3 separate regions of the Homo sapiens genome follow, and regions 1 and 3 are each linked to region 2. The links are contacts of gene promoters, found by promoter capture Hi-C in human tissues and cell types (Jung and others, 2019). All regions are on one chromosome and are shown on one strand. Each heading gives the region's core, a stretch centred on a gene start or on the middle of the fragment in contact. The rest is flanking DNA. Distances are from core to core; before and after follow the strand shown. Region 1 has its middle 52 kb from the start of SYNDIG1. Region 2 holds the start of SYNDIG1 (synapse differentiation inducing 1). Region 3 overlaps SYNDIG1 (synapse differentiation inducing 1).

Region 1 (4,036 bases), core at 489-2,988, 52 kb before region 2:
AACCTGCCGACATGTGATGTCTCCCCCAGACACCCAGCTTTAAAATTTATCCTTTTGTACTCTTTCCCTTTATTTCTCAGACTGGCCGACACTTAGAGAAAATAGAAAAGAACCTCCATTGAAATATTGGGGGCTGGTTCCCCCGATACGGAGACTCAGGCGAGATGGTTAAACTCAGCTGGGGCCACTGGAAAGATCTTATAAGTGAGGCAACAAAAGTCAGGCCTTGAAGGATGGGGAGAATCTGGCCAAGAAGCCAGGAAAGAGGCTCAGGGAATCATAACCCATTCATCTTTCCAGTTTGAGTTCCTTCCCTTCAGCCTTCCTCAGGTGCACATTTCTCAGGAAAAAAAAAAAAGAAAGAAAAGTATGATGTGCTATGCTTTGCTGTCCTAATAAACAAGCTTTAAAAGTACTTCATCAACTTTGAAGCATGACACAAATGCAAGAGGACTATTTTTATTCACCTACAGGTAACTTAAGCTATTTGTATTCATCAGCAGGTCACTCAAATTGAAATGCATTTGGAAAATTTTGCTAATACCGTTCTTGCTAATATCCCTAACTTAGGATCTGCGATCATCTCAGCCTCCTGGGTCAATCATTCCCTGTTGTTGTTGTTCCCATTTTTAATCTCATTGTTATTAAACCCTGCCTTTGTACCACCGACTGTTTTAGCAGATGTCGTTGGGGAGCCTTTATGGGGCTCATGAACCCCTGCCCAGCTGTTGTGGGGTAAGCAAACTTCCCTGCTGGGTTGCCCTTGCTAACCTGAACCCCTTCTAGACATTCAGGAAAGTTATCCTCCCCAGGAGGGGCCCAAAGCCAACAACTGACTGACACAGGGGTTGATAGCTCATCCCCCTTTGCTTCTGGATGGGCAACTGCTGTGAGATCATTCACAGTCCGGAGCACCCATGGACGTGGGATGAAGCTGACATTCCACGTCTCCACTCTGCTGCTCCCCTTCCCTGGCATGTGTCCCTCACTATCCTGTGGCTCTCTCCTGAGAGCTCTGCCTCCATAAATCATGACTCAAGCTCTGCTTCCAGGGAACCTGACCTAGGACGATTCTTAAACACTTCACTGTAATGCCTCATTTTATCATTGCAATGAGATGGATGCATAGACATATGGTGCTAATTATTATCATTATTACAGATTAGGCAATTTGCCCAAATTCTTACAGCTAGGACTTGAATTCAGCTCACCACACCATGCCTTATCTCCCAGTTTGAACTGTTAGGTCTTTGGAAAGAAGCTGGTTATGCATCAGAGTGGGTCGTGTTTTAAAGTCTTCGTTGCTCAAAACTCCTTTTTATATTAACAGAAGGAGAAAAATCACACTTCTGCATATTAAATATTAGAGCAACAAGCTCTCACTAAAATAATTCAAGTGTCCCAGGGGCAGAGAGAGAAATGTTGAGCCTTCTATAACACCCCGGGGGTCAGATGAACAGAGAAGGTGGTCATTCAGCAAGCAAGACTGCAAATGTGGACTCTGAAGACACAGGTGCGGGCGGGAGTTTTTGTCTAAGCGTGAAACTCTGATACGTGGCATGCTCTGAGAATTATCAGGAACCGAGCTCCGAGGGTTTCCGCCCTTTATTGTCTGTCCCAGGCATCAGAGCCCAAGCACATTTATCTCCGGAGCCAGGGACATTCACGTCCAGTGTTTCTGGAATGGCACTCCACGCTGATTTATGTGTGCGGTCAGCAGAGGAGCAGCACACCAGCAGCTTCTAATGGAAACTCACTCCATTCACCATAAATATCTCATCTGCATGCAGGCCCACCACCAACTGGTTTCTGAGATGAGGCCTAGGATACTGCATTGCTACCCAGCTCTTCTGGGGCCCCTTGTCCATCCTAAATTAGAGCATCACTTTCTAGAGGAGAGTTCATTGATACCTAAAATAGGATTGAATTTTTTAAGACCATTGTAAAAAAAATAATATTTTAAGAGCAAGAGAATGAGTGAGAAGAAGAGTAGAATTCATTCCACAAAACTATATAAAGAATAATTTTTGCTGTCTATTTTTGAAAAGCATTTAAGGGTATTGGAAAATGCTTGCTCTAAACCAGATGTTGACAAACTTTATTTAAAGGGCCCGATAGTAAATATTTTAGGCTTTAGAGTGCTACAGTCTCTGCCACAACTACTCAATTCTACCACTGTGGCACAAAACCAGCCATAGACAATATGTAAGTGAATGCACATGACTGTGTTCCAATAAAACTTTATTTACGAACAGTGATTTGAATCTTATGTAATTTTCACATGTCATGAAATGTTATCCTTTTGATTTTTCAACCACTTAAAAATTTAAAATGATTCTTAGCTTGTAGGCAACACAGGCCCACAGGATGTAGGCTGGATTTGCCCACAAGCCATATTTTGCCAACCTCTACTCAATTCTATCTGAAAACCCTTTACTTTATTATAAATACAATGGCAAAGTGTAGATTTAACTTCCCTCTACCAACAATTACTAGGAGGAGTTAAACCAAACTATGAATACTGGTTATCTATTATATGAATAATGAATGGGGTTATAGGTGATTTTTATTTTCTTCATTATATTTTTTCAACATTTATCAAATATTTTACAATAAGCATATTTTCTGATTAATAAATAAATTTTAAAAATATGATAGAAATGGTACCTGTTATAGAGATTAAAATCTTGAAATTTAGCCTTAAAAAATACCATCTGCTCTCCTTCATGTGCAACATGGGGTATTGCTGGAAAATTGTCCAACAGACATAAACAATGTGCACAGAGGCAGGGGCCTGGGCCTTCACGACCTCCTCTTTGACTGTGTTATTTTAGGAAACTCCTTAACCTTCTCGGCCTCCACTGGGCTGTTACTCACATGAATATCATAATGCCTGGCTGGGGGAGAATCAAATCAGATAAAGCACATTCTTTCACAGTTCTGAAACCCTTTGTTTTAGGCTTTGCAAGAGTGAAAAATATTGTTCTATCTGAAAGCACATTCTTTCAAAGTTCTGAAACCCTTTGTTTTAGGCTTTGCAAGAGTGAAAAATATTGTTCTATCTGTCAGGGAATTAGAATTCTGTAATCTCCATTTAAGTGAATTTTTTATGGAGTCACCATTGGCTTTTCTTTGCATTCCTAAACTAGGACCCAATCTGGGATTCAGTTAACAGTTTTCTTCCTTTTTTTCCTGAATTCCTGGGCCAGAGCATCAAGCTTTGCCCTCATTTTTCTTGTCCTCACTCATCAGAGTGTCCCCAGATACTCTGAAAGTGATTCCAGGGGTTGGATGGAGCTGCACTTTGTCAGCAGGAGGGTGGCAGCAGGAGCTGGGCCAGGCTGACATCAAGGCCACGGCCCCAGGGCCCCAGCAACCTCTCCTGTTCCCTCCCACCTGGAGAAACCAGAGCCCCACATGCTGGGGCCTCAATCCAAGTGGTTCTTTTGTGAGTTTAAGGCTGACCTCCAGGCACAGAGCCTAACCGGGCTCGGAAGTTGGTCTGTGCCTGTCATAATGCCATGGAGGGTGGCTGCAAGTGACCATCACAGTGCCCTGGTGATGACTCTGCCCTAAAAGAAGTGAAGCTGGGAACTAGGGTACCCAGTTACATTCAGTCCTTAGAATCCACAGCTCTGTGGATCTTTCATTTGCTATGGGTTAATTAAGCCTCTTCAGTGGGCTGTGGCTCTGCTAGGTACTGGGATGCAGGGTGAAGACAAATATGACCCTGGCCTCATGGAGTTTATAATCCAGTGGGGAAGCTAGACACTAACCAAGAAGCCAGAGAAATTCTGTGATGACTGCCGAGCAGAAATGCATGTGAAGGGTAGGACATATCAGCCAGACCTAGTAGAAGGAGGCAGGGATAGAGACAGAGGAACCTTCCTGTGGGGTCCTATCTGTGACATGGAGCTGAGCAAAAGGTCCCAAGTGAAGTGGGGGAGGGGGAGGCCAGGGATGCAAAGGATCTGAGGCAGGACAGAGAGAGGGACCACCCAGAGTGTGGGCAAAGGCCTGTCTATGACAGCAGGTC
Region 2 (3,663 bases), core at 686-3,185:
TGTTTCTTTACATACACGTCCTGGCCCTGTGAGTTTCTTTTGAAATGAAGTGTAAGGCCCCTTTGAATTACAGAAAGATGTGTGTGTGTGTGTGTGTGTGTGTGTGTGTGTGTCATGGGGGAAGAGTCCACCTTCTGTTTCTTTCTTTTTTTTTTTTTTTTTTGAGACGGAGTCTCACTCTGTCGCCCAGGCTGGAATGCAGTGGCGCGATTAAATTCAAACAGCACCCAGGAGACAAAGGCGAGTCCTGGCTGCAGCCCAGGCAGGTGTTCTCTCGTCAAAACAAAATCTGCCTCAAAAGTCAATCCAGAGGCTGGGCAAGTGAAAGAGCAGTGACTTAGAGGCAGGGAACCCGAGCTTCAGGCTACTCCTGCACATTGGGTGGCTACACAATCTCAATTACCCTTTTTAAACTTCAATTTCTTCATTTGATAAATGGGATCAATGACTCTCCACCTCAAATGGGTCTAATAGTATCTGCTCAACCTAATGGCTTAGATGGGAAACTGCTTTATTCAGGAAAGGACTCCGGAAAGGTAAGCTGCTTTATTAAAGTGTGGTGGCATGTTCTTCCAAGTTGAGAAGTTCTGCTAGATGGGAGAAATGAACAGTGCCCGTTTCTGAGTGTTCCAGACCACAGCCTTGCAGCTCTGGGGACCTAAAGGAAGAAACATCAGGTGTGTCTCGCGGGGCTGCAGACATGAAGACGGGGATGGAATTCAGGTGATAGTACTGGTTCCACTCATCCGCGCCTCCTTCAAATGCCTCCTTCTGGCACTCTGCATTTCAGCATTCTCTTTGGGCTGCGGAGGCTCCCTAGAAGCCACGTCCCCTGAAAGGAATATAGGAAGGACCTCTTGTTCCTGGCACCACCTTTAACTCCTGCCCCTGCCCACCAGGACACCTGGGCAAGACGCAGCGCAATGGTGGGTTACCAGGCAGGAGGGAGGGCTCTAGGAAGGTTGGGAGCCATGGAACTCTGGAGCTTAACCTTCTCTGACCACCAGTGTACCAGCCTGCGGGTGGCAGGACTGGGGCCTCTGCCTAGTGTTGAAACGGGGGCGCACAGATGCTTTTCTAAATAACTTTTGACCCCCTTTCTGGTAAATCTTTTTTTCAGAGTTGATTCTCTATGAAATCTACACTGCAAACACCACCTCCTCCGCTCCTAGAACGCAGACTGTCTTACCACCGCCCTAGTTTCCTTCCAATTCCAACTGGGGCGGGCCCGCCATGGGCCAACAACAGGCTGGCTCAGGGCTGAGGGGGTCTCTGGAGTCTGAACTCCGCGCCCGCTTGCTCCTCCAGGGCTTAGCTGGTCAGGACTTGAACATTCGCCGGATCCATAAATTGGGTCATTTTTAACCTCAAAACCGAACCGCAGCCTGGGGAGGCCTTTAGGACCGAGGGGAGCCATCCCTTCCTCTAGTCGGGCAGCAAATTCCTGTCCTCCTAGTCCCCCGCAGCTATCCCCCGCCCCCAGCCTCTGTGGCCCTCACATTGTCAGACACTGGCCGCGGGCCACCATCTGGACGCGATCCCCCGCTAGGGCCTCCCTGGTCTGGGCCAAAGTTGGTGGCCACCTTCGCGCGGGCTGCGCCCTCCTTCTCTTCCCTGCCCTCCTCCCCCGGGGCCCGCGCCCGCTGCCTCCAGCACGCGCGTCGGCAGGCTCGGCAAGCGAAGAGGAGCGGCTCGCCCCAGGGCGCCCCTCGCCCAGCCTGCCGGCCAGGCGAGCGCGACGAGAGTCTCCCCGCACCCCTTCCTCTCCCGGGGGCCGAGAGGGTTGGGCTCCGCCCCGGCGCCGCAGCTCCCGACTCCCCGCCGCTCGGGCTGCCGCCGCTGCCCCGCGCCCGGCGCTCGGGGCAGCCGGGGGCGCAGGCGGAGAGCGCAGGGCGGGGAGAGGCGTGGGGAGCAGAGCGGCGCTGAGGGGAGGGCAGAGGAGGAGAGAGCCTGGCAGCGGAGGAGCAGAGGCGGGCGCCGCACCGCCCCGCACGCTCGCTCGCTCGGGAGAGTCGCGGGCGGCCGCTTGGGCGCACTTGCCGGGTCACCTTGTCCCGGAGGTAAGTCCAGACCTCCCGGCCGCGGGGGCGGGCGGAGGGGCCCGCAGTGGGCGGGGTCGCGGCAGGGGCCGCGAGCTGGCGGCGGGAGCTGGAGGCTGCCCTGCGCTGGCGGGTGTCCTAGTCCTGGCTCCGCCTCGGAGCGCGCAGACCCGGCGGCGGCGTGGCGCCCGCGGTAAGTCCGGGTGGTCGCCGCGACGAGACTTGGGAGACACGGGGTCGCAGGGCGGGAGGGGGAGCTGAGCCGGCAGAGAAAATGCCCAGGAAGGGGTCGATGCTGGCCTGGGCTGCACCTTGGTGCCTTGCCACCCCGGGAGACGCGAAGGGGCTGCTGTGCGAATTCGATGGGAGCTGGTGAGACCGAGAACTGAGAGCGTAGCGGAGCCAGGCTGCCCAGCAGGGCCATGAGGGCGCGCGGCGGGCCAAGGCTCTGCGGGTTCGGGCTGCCCCTCGGAGTGACCCGAAGGAGACCAGCCAGGGCTGGTGAGCCGGGCGGCCACGGAGCTGGGGACCTAGGTCTGTTTGGGAGTAGGAAGGGAAACAGACTAATTCTCCGAGCGGAGCGGCAGGCAAGGTGCAAGCGCGCTTGGGATGGGGAATCCCGACGGGCGACCGTGGCGGAAGCAGAGACTCCTGGAGCCTCTTTCCTCTAGCCAGGACAAGACCTGCCTTCAAAAGCTGTCTGGCCCCTGGCAGCCGCGACAGCCTGCAGCCCTGGGAGCCACAGCCCTGGCGCCGAGATGGGAGCGAGCACATACGCTTTTTTGGTTCCAATTTGAATCTCGCTTTTTCCTAGTCGTGATTTCTGCCTCTTCATGTGCACTCTCTGGGCAGTGAGGAGGAAGGAATGGCTCACTGGATGAGTTGGGCACTTTTCTTAGGGAAGGGGCTTTGTCCCTATGCGCTTTTTGCAAGACCCTACTAGAGTGGCTCTGGCAGCCGAGCTTTGAGGAGGCGGCCAGAGGGGCCGCTTGGCGTTTCTGAAAGACGAGAGGAAGGGGTCTTCTGGTAGTCCTGTTTTCCTTTGGGGGTTTCGTTGCACGCAGAGGCTTGGGCGCTTGGCACCCAGACTTCAGGTGCGCACAGTCCTCCTGCGACGTCAGATGCGCTGGCGCCGCGGCGCTCCTGGCTCGGACCGATGCCTGCGCCTTCCCTGGCCACGTCCTGGTGTTTAGTGCAGCAGACACCGGCCGAAGGCTTGGCTGATTGGGGGTGTCGAGGGGAGGGGGGCTGGGCGTTACACAGTGGCTCCGTTTTCTGGTTGGAATCAGTTGGTGAGGCGTGCGCGCGCGAGTCCGTGTATCTGTCCGTCTCCCTCCTACAGCCCAGCGTGTTTGGTCTGAGTCCAAAGAAGGAGGTGGTGTGTGTGCTGCGTAGACCTGCGCCTGTGGGGTGAGCAGCCTCATAGCCCCCAGAGCCGGCCAACTTCTCCGTGCTAGGCTGCGACCTCAAGGGCTGCCGCGTCGGGGATCGGAAGTGGTCTTCAAAGAGGGGTCTAGGTCGCGAAATCCTGGCAGCAGCCGAAGTGAAAAGGAGCTGCTAGGAGGCGGGCGGGGGGCAGTCTGATGTCCGTTCTGGCGCGGACAGGAAGAAACTGAAGTCGAAT
Region 3 (3,711 bases), core at 727-3,226, 34 kb after region 2:
TGCTCTGCCCATGCCAGGGCAAGCTAAGGGCCGAGAACGAATGGCCCACGAGCAGCCCTTGGCCAGTGGCGGGCAGGACGTTGCTGGGAAGATGCCCCTGTCCTGATAGCTGTGAGTGAATGTCCTATACAGTCCCCTAGACGTTCCCACAGGGCTGAGCCCCAGCCACTGGCAGCAGCAACTGGCTTAACCACACATACCCCTCACCTTCTTTCTGTTCCCTACCTTTCTTGCCCCTACCCAGTGCTTTCTGGAACCACCTCCCAAGTGCACTCAGATCCTCGTCGCAGGGCCAGCTTCTGGGAGGTCTTGGGCATCATCCTGGATGCAGGAGTCATAGCCTTGTGGAAGCAGCAGGCCTGTTCTGCGTCATCTGCTTTCTCCCCATCACTAAGTGAATCCTGTCCAGGACAAGTGGCGAGCAGGGCTTGGAGTGTCACGTGGGAGGCAGTGTCTCTTGGGAAGCATCTCTGCCTGTGCATCAGTGCTGCTCTGATTCACAGAGCATCGTCCTGGCCTCTCCAGGATGAATCATACCCCGGGCACAGACAGGAATGAATGTCAGGGAGACAGAATCTCTCAGAATCCTCACCCTTGAATCTTCCCTGCAGAGTTCTGGGAAAGAATGACTTTGAAACAATCATTTATTTGACCCTGGCAGCTATTTCAGTGACTTTTAAGCAAGCTATTTTAGTGATTTTTAAGAGTTAGTGTCATTCCATGGATGTCCCATTCAAATCTTTGTTAAGAACATGCTAATTTGCTTTTCTGGATCAAATGCACATCCTCCAAGTGCATTGCCATTTGGCTTCTGGTTAGGATGGTGTGAAGGCCTTGGGGCTGTCCTCTCTGTTAAAGGAAATAAAATACAAAGGTCACTGAAGAAGAGAAGAGTGACAGTACTGATTCATACAGTGCCTGCTGACGTGTCTGGAAAGCAGAGCGCTGACGTGGGAGTTTTGTCTTTGCATTTATGTTAATTCTGCTTTAAACTCTGGGAAATTAAGTAGATACGAACTTTGGCACAATTATGTTCAGTGATCATTCAAGATGTCATAGCATGAAGCCCATCACACTTCCAAGTTTCAAGGGCCCTTTATCTGGGATGCGTGAATGGACAGATTCATGGTCAGGGTCTCAGAAGCTTTGTGGTCTTCAGCTGAGCTTGGGAAGCAGACTGTGCCCTCATTCTTCTCATTCCTTCTTCTCTGTTGCTCCTTCCTGAGGACTGTGGGGGAAGGCAGGCGTCCCCTGCCAGAAGGCGGCTTGTAATGCCTGGAAATATAGCTGGGGATGCGTTCCTTCTGCACGGTACTTATCACGCAAGGCAGGGCGGACAGGTGGCAATATAACCAGCTAACTAAATGCACAGATGATCCTAACAAGGTGGAGGAAAAAGATCAGGAAAAATGAGATCACACCAAGAGGGAGGTGAGCACCTCAAATATATTTTGGTGTCTAGAGCTGGCTGTGTGCTCAGCAGCAGTGCTGAGAGGGAGACACAATCAGCAGCATGACTCACAGTGTCCACGCGGTAAAAATAGACCAGGGGCTCAGGAGAAGCTCGTCTACTTTTGCTCTGATACGGGATGCAGAGTTCTCATAGAAGCAATGAGCGTCACCCCCAAAATCCCCCAATGGGAATGCCTCCCCAGCCCCCCAGCGCTCCAGTCCCTCTGACCCTTTGCTAGCTTTCCACTGCTCTTATCTGCAGAACTCATTTATTGAGCTCATGATCTCAGCCCCCTGGCACTCCAATCCCCCTGACCCTGTGCTAACTTTCCTACAGCTCTTATCTGCAGAACTCACTCATTGAGCTCATGATCTGCCTCTCATCTTTAGGTCAAGTGTGAGCTTCACAAGAACACAGGCTTCTTCTGGCTGCTTCCCTGCCACCCCCAGCGCCTACTGCAGGGTGCGTACTCGGGCATGACTTGTTGAATGACTGGATTGAAGACATTTCATGAGGATTGCTGCTTACAAAGCAGATCCGTGGGATCCAGGGAGAGCAGGTTTTTTTTTTTTTTTTTTTTTGAGACGGAGTCTCACACTTTCGCCCAGGCTGTAGTACAGTGGCATGATCTTGGCTCACTGCAAGCTCCACCTCCCAGGCTCACGCCATTCTCCTGTCTCAGCCTCCTGAGTAGCTGGGACTACAGGCACCTGCCACCACGCCGACTAATTTTTTGTATTTTTAGTAGAGACAGGGCTTCACCGTGTTAGCCAGGATAGTCTTGGTCTCCTGACCTCGTGATCCGCCCGCCTCGGCCTCCCAAAGTGCTGGGATTACAGGTGTGAGCCACCGCGCCCAGCCAGGAGAGCAGTTTTATGCTTTGCGGACTTTCATTGGTGTGGCTATCTGATGGCTTGTTTCACTGCAGTGTAGATTGTGGCATAGGTAGCCCGGGGAGCAATGAAGTCGCACATAATAAAGAGACCCTATGCGTAGCAAAAAGGCTTAAAGGAACCCCTGGAAAGAAAACAGGGAAAGACAGGACAGAGATGCAGCGAAGGAAACCCAAGCCCAAACAAGCCCGACTGAGCTCCCTTGGCCCTCTCTGGATGCCACCCTCACCCTGGCTCTAGGTCTCCATCTGTGGCTCGGAGGCTGCCTGGGGGCTGGGACCTGAGGCTGTATTGTCCCTGTGGTGGAGCATGGATGTTCTTAGTTTTCAGTTTTCTTCAGAATGAATCCGGATCCAAACTTTAAAATCTGTAGCTCATGAAGAACAGCTTCTACTTCAAAGAAGGCCAGTCACGAGGGAACATAGAGAGTTGGGAGATGTCAGAGTTGAGACGGAGACTAAACGGGGGTTGGCATATGCTGGCTCTCATGAGCTACGCAAAAGCCTTTGGTCTGTGCCCCGGGAGCTGGGTCACTGAAGAATTCCTGCAGAGCTGTCACAGAATCAGTTCCCCATCTGAAAGACCCTGTGACTGCTGCAATAGCCCAGTAAGGATGTGGGGAAGCAACTAGGAAATCGTTGAAGTGGCCTGGGTGAGAGGATGGTAGCTTGGTCCAGGGTGACAAGGGGGAAGAATCAGTAGGACTTGTTGATGCTTTGATTTTCATGGAGGAGGTGGTGAACAGATCCCAGGTGTGGGGCAAGGCCAGGTGAGCCGCGGCAGGGCTGTTCACAGACGTGGTGGGTGAGGAGCCAGCAGAGGGTCTGTGCGTGTCCAGCTTGCTAGCTGAGTGGTCATCGGCACAGGGTAGGTAGGTGGCACCGCGGGCTACAGGGAGATGAGCTGGAAAAGGCTGAAGAGAGGACCTGGCAAAGAGTCATTGAGAAGTCATTGGGAAGCAGGAAAACCAGCCAAGGGTGCGCAGCCAGGGGAGCCCTGGGGAAATTCTCTCAAGGAGAAGGAAGATGCCCAGGGTGTCATATTTGTCTGAGGTCAGGCCTGGTGGGCAGAGGCGGTCATCCTCTGGACTCACTGGCGTTTAGGACCCCCTCAGCGGGGAAGAGGGGGGCTCAGAGTGGCTCCTACATATCCAAACCCCAGATCTGCCCCCCTTACTCAACCTAGCAGCTAAATTGGGGTGGATTTTAGGAATCCACATGGATTGTTCCCTTCTGGGGTTTTTGTAAATGGCACTGCAACATTTTTAATAAAATTTAAATTGCAGAGCAGACTGGGTCCTCATTCTTAGGCAATCTTAGGTGGCTTCCGCCCATATTTGCTGTCTTCATGTTTACTCCACTCGCC

The links. The method cuts DNA at HindIII sites, captures the fragments that hold promoters and counts their contacts. A contact is called where the count stands out against the background at its distance.
Region 1: a contact is called between a fragment that was not itself captured here and the fragment with the promoter of SYNDIG1 in region 2, in 1 of the 25 tissues and cell types used here (liver).
Region 3: a fragment that was not itself captured here is called in contact with the fragment with the promoter of SYNDIG1 in region 2 in 1 of the 25 tissues and cell types used here (dorsolateral prefrontal cortex).

Annotation. Positions count from the first base shown.
Region 1 is chr20:24,415,973-24,420,008 of GRCh38, forward strand. No RefSeq gene overlaps it. Among named protein-coding and RNA genes, the nearest start is that of SYNDIG1, 52 kb to the right of the region's middle. The HindIII fragment of the contact is 4,189 bases long and covers 1-3,833 here.
Region 2 is chr20:24,467,694-24,471,356 of GRCh38, forward strand. SYNDIG1 (synapse differentiation inducing 1) reads left to right here and starts at 1,936. Exons shown (of 4, transcript NM_024893.3): 1 at 1,936-2,060. The HindIII fragment of the contact is 8,441 bases long and covers 1-3,663 here.
Region 3 is chr20:24,501,944-24,505,654 of GRCh38, forward strand. The region is part of intron 1 of SYNDIG1 (synapse differentiation inducing 1); the gene reads left to right. Among named protein-coding and RNA genes, the nearest start is that of SYNDIG1, 34 kb to the left of the region's middle. RefSeq lists enhancers at 1,768-2,269, 2,270-2,769. The HindIII fragment of the contact is 5,316 bases long and covers 1-3,711 here.